Regions from separate parts of the Homo sapiens genome. Here region 1 is linked to region 2. Evidence: promoter capture Hi-C in human tissues and cell types (Jung and others, 2019). All regions are on one chromosome and are shown on one strand. Each heading gives the region's core, a stretch centred on a gene start or on the middle of the fragment in contact. The rest is flanking DNA. Distances are from core to core; before and after follow the strand shown.

The links. The method cuts DNA at HindIII sites, captures the fragments that hold promoters and counts their contacts. A contact is called where the count stands out against the background at its distance.
Region 1: a fragment that was not itself captured here is called in contact with the fragment with the promoter of C19orf18 in region 2 in 1 of the 25 tissues and cell types used here (pancreas).

What each region holds. Positions count from the first base shown.
Region 1 is chr19:58,269,287-58,272,036 of GRCh38, reverse strand. The region is part of intron 1 of ZNF8-DT (ZNF8 divergent transcript); the gene reads left to right. It also overlaps a transcript of ZNF544 not described here. Among named protein-coding and RNA genes, the nearest start is that of ZNF8-DT, 8.1 kb to the left of the region's middle. The HindIII fragment of the contact is 7,344 bases long and covers 1-2,750 here.
Region 2 is chr19:57,973,199-57,975,967 of GRCh38, reverse strand. It overlaps C19orf18 (chromosome 19 open reading frame 18), which reads left to right and starts at 1,434. Exons shown (of 6, transcript NM_152474.5): 1 at 1,434-1,656; 2 at 1,765-1,869. The coding sequence starts at 1,536. The HindIII fragment of the contact is 10,862 bases long and covers 1-2,769 here.

The DNA of each region.
Region 1 (2,750 bases), core at 144-2,643, 300 kb before region 2:
GCACCCACCACCACGCCCAGATAATTTTTGCATTTTTAGTGGGGACAGGGTTTCACCATGTCGGCCAGGCTGGTCTTCAACTCCTGACCTCAAGTGATCCGCCCGCCTCGGCCTCCCAAAGTGCTGGGATTACAGGCATGAGCCACTGCGCCCAGCCTGCTCTTGCTTGATTTTTTAAATTGTCAGATCACTAATACAGAGACACCGAATCAAAAGGAGAGTAGGACAGTTGTTCATAATCCCACAAATCAAATGCTTACCTCCTCATGTACCATTGCTTCTCTCACCTATAGGCACACATTTGAAATAATTTGTTAGTTATCCAAATAAGAAGTGAACCACCAGGGAATTAAATGCTATGGGCTTAAAAGGGAAAGTACTCATCTCCTGCCCCAGTCACTCATCCTCTCAGCCTCCCGACATCACTTTTTTTTTGAGATAGGGTCTCACACTGTCACATAGGCTGGAGTGCAGTGATATAATAACAGCTAACTGCAGCCTCAACCTCCTGGGGTCAAAGAATCCTCCCAACTCAGCTTCCTGAGTAGCTGGGACTTCAGGTATGTGCTACTATGCCCGGCTAATTTTTGTATTTTTTGTAGAGACCAGGTCTCGCCATGTTGCCCAGGCTGGTCTCCAACTCTTAGGCTCAAGTGATCCACCTGCCTCAGCCTCCCAAAGCACTGGGATTACAGGTGTGCACCACCATATCCACTGCACCCACCTCCAGCCACTTTTAACCATATCTGTTCCAATTCTTCTTGAGGACACCTCCGTAATTCTAATCTTTGATCATCTTTAGTCTTTTTTTTTTTTTTTTTCCTGGAGACGGAGTCTGACTCTGTTGCCCAGGCTGGAGCACAGTGATGCAATCTCAGCTCACTGCAACCTCCACTTCCTGGGTTCAAACGATTCTCCTGCCTCAGCCTCCTGAGTAGCTGGGATTACAGGTGCCCACCACCACGCTGGGCTAATCTTTGTATTTTTAGTAGAGACAGAGTTTCACCATGTTGGCCAGGCTGGTCTCAAACTCCTGACCTCAGGTGATCCACCCACCTCAGCCTCCCAAAGTGCTGGGATTACAGGCATAAGCCACCGCATCCAGCCAATCATCTTTAGTTTTCACTAACTTCCTGCTCTGACAGGTGAGGATCTGACTCACATCCGCTGCCAATTCCTCTCATATTACATTTCAAGCTTTAATTTTCATCTTCTAAATAAACTTACATATCATGTTTAAAAGCCTACTTCCTAAAAGGATGGTAAGGGAAACCTCTACTCTCCACTACTACTTTCCCCATCTACTCTCCCACATCTGCAGGTGGGGCTGACATTGTCAGTGACAGGAATAATGACAACAGTGCCCTACCCTACGGCCACTATGAAGTTGTCAGGTCACAGCCATGTGTTACTTCCTAAAAATTAAAAGCCAATACAGGCCGGGTGCAATGGCTCATCCCTGTAATCCCAGCACTTTGGGATGCCAAGGTGGGCGGATCACAAGGTGAGGAGTTGGAGACCATCCTGACCAACATGGTGAAACCCTGTGTCTACTAAAAATACAAAAATTAGCTGGGCGTGGTGGCACGTGCCTGTAATCCCAGCTACTCAGGAGGCTGAGGCAGGAGAATTGCTTGAACCCGGGAGGCGGAGGTTACAGTGAGCCAAGATCGCGCCACTGCACTCCAGACTGGGCAACAGAGACTCCTTCTCAAAAAAAAAGAAAAAAAAAGCCAATACCTAGGGTTCACGTCACAGCTATGCAAATGCCATTCCCTGAAGGGTCAATCAACAATCTGACTGCATCTCCTCCTCCTTTATTCAAATTTCATGAGCTTTTTGCCCCCTCCAGCAAGAATTACTCACATCAGTGTCAAGTGAACACTACTTTCTAAAGTTACCTTCACATAGGAACTATAACCATCTAGCAGAATTTGTATAGTTTGAGCACAATTTACCTTGAAGCCTTCAATTAAAATTACCTTTTTTTTTAAGTTATGGGTGAATAAACATTCCTTTTCTTGCCCTATTCCTTTTCTAGATTAAAGCTATTCCTTTCTTAGATTCAAAACTATTTTCTCTAGAGAAGGTTCTGCCATGCCATTTGCTCTGTTTTGAGACAGAGTCTCATTCTGTCGCCCAGGCTGGAGTCCAGTGGCATGATCTAGACTCATTGCAACCTCTGCCTCCCAGGTTCAAGTGATACTCCTGCGTCAGCCTCCTGAGTAGCTGGGATTGCAGGCATTTATCACCACACTTGGCTAATTTTTGTATCTTTAGTAGAGACAGGGTTTCACCATCTTGGCCAGGCTGGTCTCAAACTCCTAACCTAGAGTGATCCACCTGCCTCGGTCTCCCAAAGTGCTGGGATTACAGGCGTGAGCCACCATGCCAGCCCTGCCATCTTTTTTTTTTTTTTTTTTTTTGAGACAGAGTCTCGCTTTGTCGCCCACGCTGGAGTGCAGTGGCACAATCTTAGCTCACTGCAACCTCCACCTCCTGGGTTCAAGCAATTCTCCTACCTCAGCCTCCCAAGTAGCTGGGATTACAGGTGTGAGCCACCATGCCCGACCCTGACATTTTTTTTGTTTGTTTTTTTTTGAGACAGAGTCTCGCTTTGTCGCCCAAGGCTGGAGTGCAGTGGCACAATCTTAGCTCACTGCAACCTCTACCTCTCGAGTTCAAGCGATTCTCCTGCCTCAGCCTCCTGAATAGCTGGGATTATAGGCGGCTGCCACCATGCCTGGCTA
Region 2 (2,769 bases), core at 185-2,684:
GCAACGTAGCAAGATCCCATCTCTGTTTAAACAGATAAGAGTTTTTTTAATGTCTTAAAGGGCCTCCTGGCAGGGCACAGTGGCTCACTCCTGTCACCCCAGCACTTTGGGAGGCCAAGGTGGGTGAATCATGAGATCAGGAGTTCGAGACTGGCCTGGCCGCCAACATGGTGAAAGCCCATCTCTACTAAAAATACAAAAATTAGCTGGGTGTGGTGGCAGATGCCTGTAATCCCAGCGGTTCCAGAGGCTGAGGCAGGAGAATCGTTTGAACCCAGGAGGTGGAGGTTGCAGTGAGCCAAGATTGTGCCACTGCACTCCAGTGTGGGTGACAGGGCAAGACTCCATCTCAAAAAAAAAAAAAAAAAAAAAAAAGGGCCTCCTGTTGGTCAGGTCACATCACGAGTCAAAAGAAAGTCCCAGACTTCTGCTTCTTCCTGGAAGTATTCCCTTCCTCTCACCTATCATGCACAGCCTGGACAGTATTGATTTCAGTGGTCCCTAACATCCAGCACTCCCAGGTCCCCTCTGTCTCCCTCATACATGACATAGTTCATTGCCTTTTTTGAGCCCGTCTTCTATTCCTCCCATCTCTGAAGCCTAGGGCCCACTTTCAGTCATCAGGAGTCCCCCTTTACCTTCCTGCTGTGGGTCTCCCCTGTGCACATTGCCTCCCTTCTAAGGGTGACTGCTTTCCTTCCACTTTCTTTTCTTTCTTTCTTTGTGCAGTGGTACGATTTTGGCTCACTGCTACCTCTGCCTTCTGGGCTCAAGTGATCTTCCTGCCTCAGCCTCCCGAGTATCTGGGACTACAGGTACACGCCACCATGCCTGGCTAGTTTTTGTTTTTGTGTTTGTTGTTTTATTTTTTTGAGACAGAGTCTTGCTCTGTCGCCCAGGCTGGAGTGCAGTGGCATGATCTCAGCTCACTGCAACCTCCACCTCCTGGGTTCAAGTGATTCTCATGCCTCAGCCTCCCAAGTAGCTTGAACTACAGGTGTGCACCACCACGCCCAGCAAATTTTTGTATTTTTAGTAGAGATGGGCTTTCACTGTGTTGGCCAGGCTGGTCTTGAACTCCTGGCCTCAAGCGATCTGCCCACCTTGACCTCCTAAAGTGTTGGGATCATAGGCGTGAGCCACCGTGCCCATTCCTTTTTTCCTGAACATTTTCCAAGTGAGGTTGTTGGAAATCACGGATGGGGAACTATGCATGCGGAGGGCTGACTGTAATTGATTTCTTTCTGCCTCCTCACTAATCTGCACACTGCAGGCAGGGACCTGGTCTCATCATGCCTGCACCTCCAAGCACTGCCCTCTTACACTGTAGTCTCCCCATTGGTCAGCATGGTTCCATGAAGGAACTCCATTATCACAGCAAGGACTGACCTCACACTGGTGGCTCCAAGTCACTGCCCAAACATTCTGAAGGGAGTAGAACTTCTTGATTCCTCAGATAAATAGAGGACAGATGCTGGACTGTAGCTAAGTATTTCCTTTCATCTACGGGATAAAATACTGATAATTTGAGAGTGATGGACAAGGTTCAGAGTGGTTTCCTCATTTTGTTTTTGTTTTTAATGGAATGCCAACTTCATTTATGCTTGCCGTATGCAGATGGACTCCATCCCACTGGAAACATAACAGGCTTACCAGGTAGCTTCAACCACTGGTTTTATGTGACTCAGGGAGAATTGAAAAGCTGTTTCAGGGGAGATAAAAAGAAGGTAATTACATTTCACCGCAAAAAGTTTTCTTTTCAAGGCAGTAAACGGTCACAACCACCCAGAAACATCACCAAAGAGCCCAAAGTGTTCTTTCATAAAACCCAGTTGCCTGGGATTCAAGGGGCTGCCTCGAGATCCACGGGTGAGTCATTGAATTCCTCATTCAGTGGAGTGAGAATCGTAGCCTGGAGTCCTCTTATCTGCCATGTGAATGTGTACTGTGTGCTTGCTGGTAGAAAGGTCCATAAAATAGAGTATAATTAGATAAACATTTGCTTGGAAATTAGATCTTATGCTCTTCACTCTCTGTTAACTGCTTTCTCTTTAGGGATTGCCACTTTCTTCTCTTTTTCATTTCACTTTAATAAGCGCACACAAAAACCTTGATCCCATCCAGATTACACAGGTATGCCTGTCTGACTTGAATTTGGTGCACATTTGGCAGTAGAGCATGCAAGTCTAGACACAGAAGGTTTGTGAGTGTACAGAATTCTTTTTTTTCTTTTTTTTTTTTTTGAGACAGAGTCTTGCTCTGTCGCCCAGGCTGGAGTGCAGTGGCGCGATCTCGGCTCACTGCAAGCTCCACCTCCTGGGTTCACACCATTCTCCTGCCTCAGCCTCCCAAGTAGCTGGGACTACAGGCACCCGCCACCACGCCAAGCTAATTTTTTGTATTTTTAGTAGAGACAGGGTTTCACTGTGTTAGCCAGGATGGTCTTGATCTCCTGACCTCATGATCCGCCCGCCTCGGCCTCTCAAAGTGCTGGGATTACAGGCATGAGCCACCATGCCCAGCCGAGAATTCTTTATAAGCATTTTCTATGGTTCCCTTCTAATTTGAGTACTAGAGGATGTTTGTTTATCTTATAACAGCAAAACCAACCCCGACAATCTTTGAAGCTCAGCAACCCTTTGTGGAGATATATGATGCTTGTAAATAATCTCCATTCCATGCAAGGGAAATGCTGTCTGTGTGATACATTTGCATGTAATTTGTGTCCGAGGAAAGGACACTATTGTTGGTTCCCTGGCCTCTCTGCCT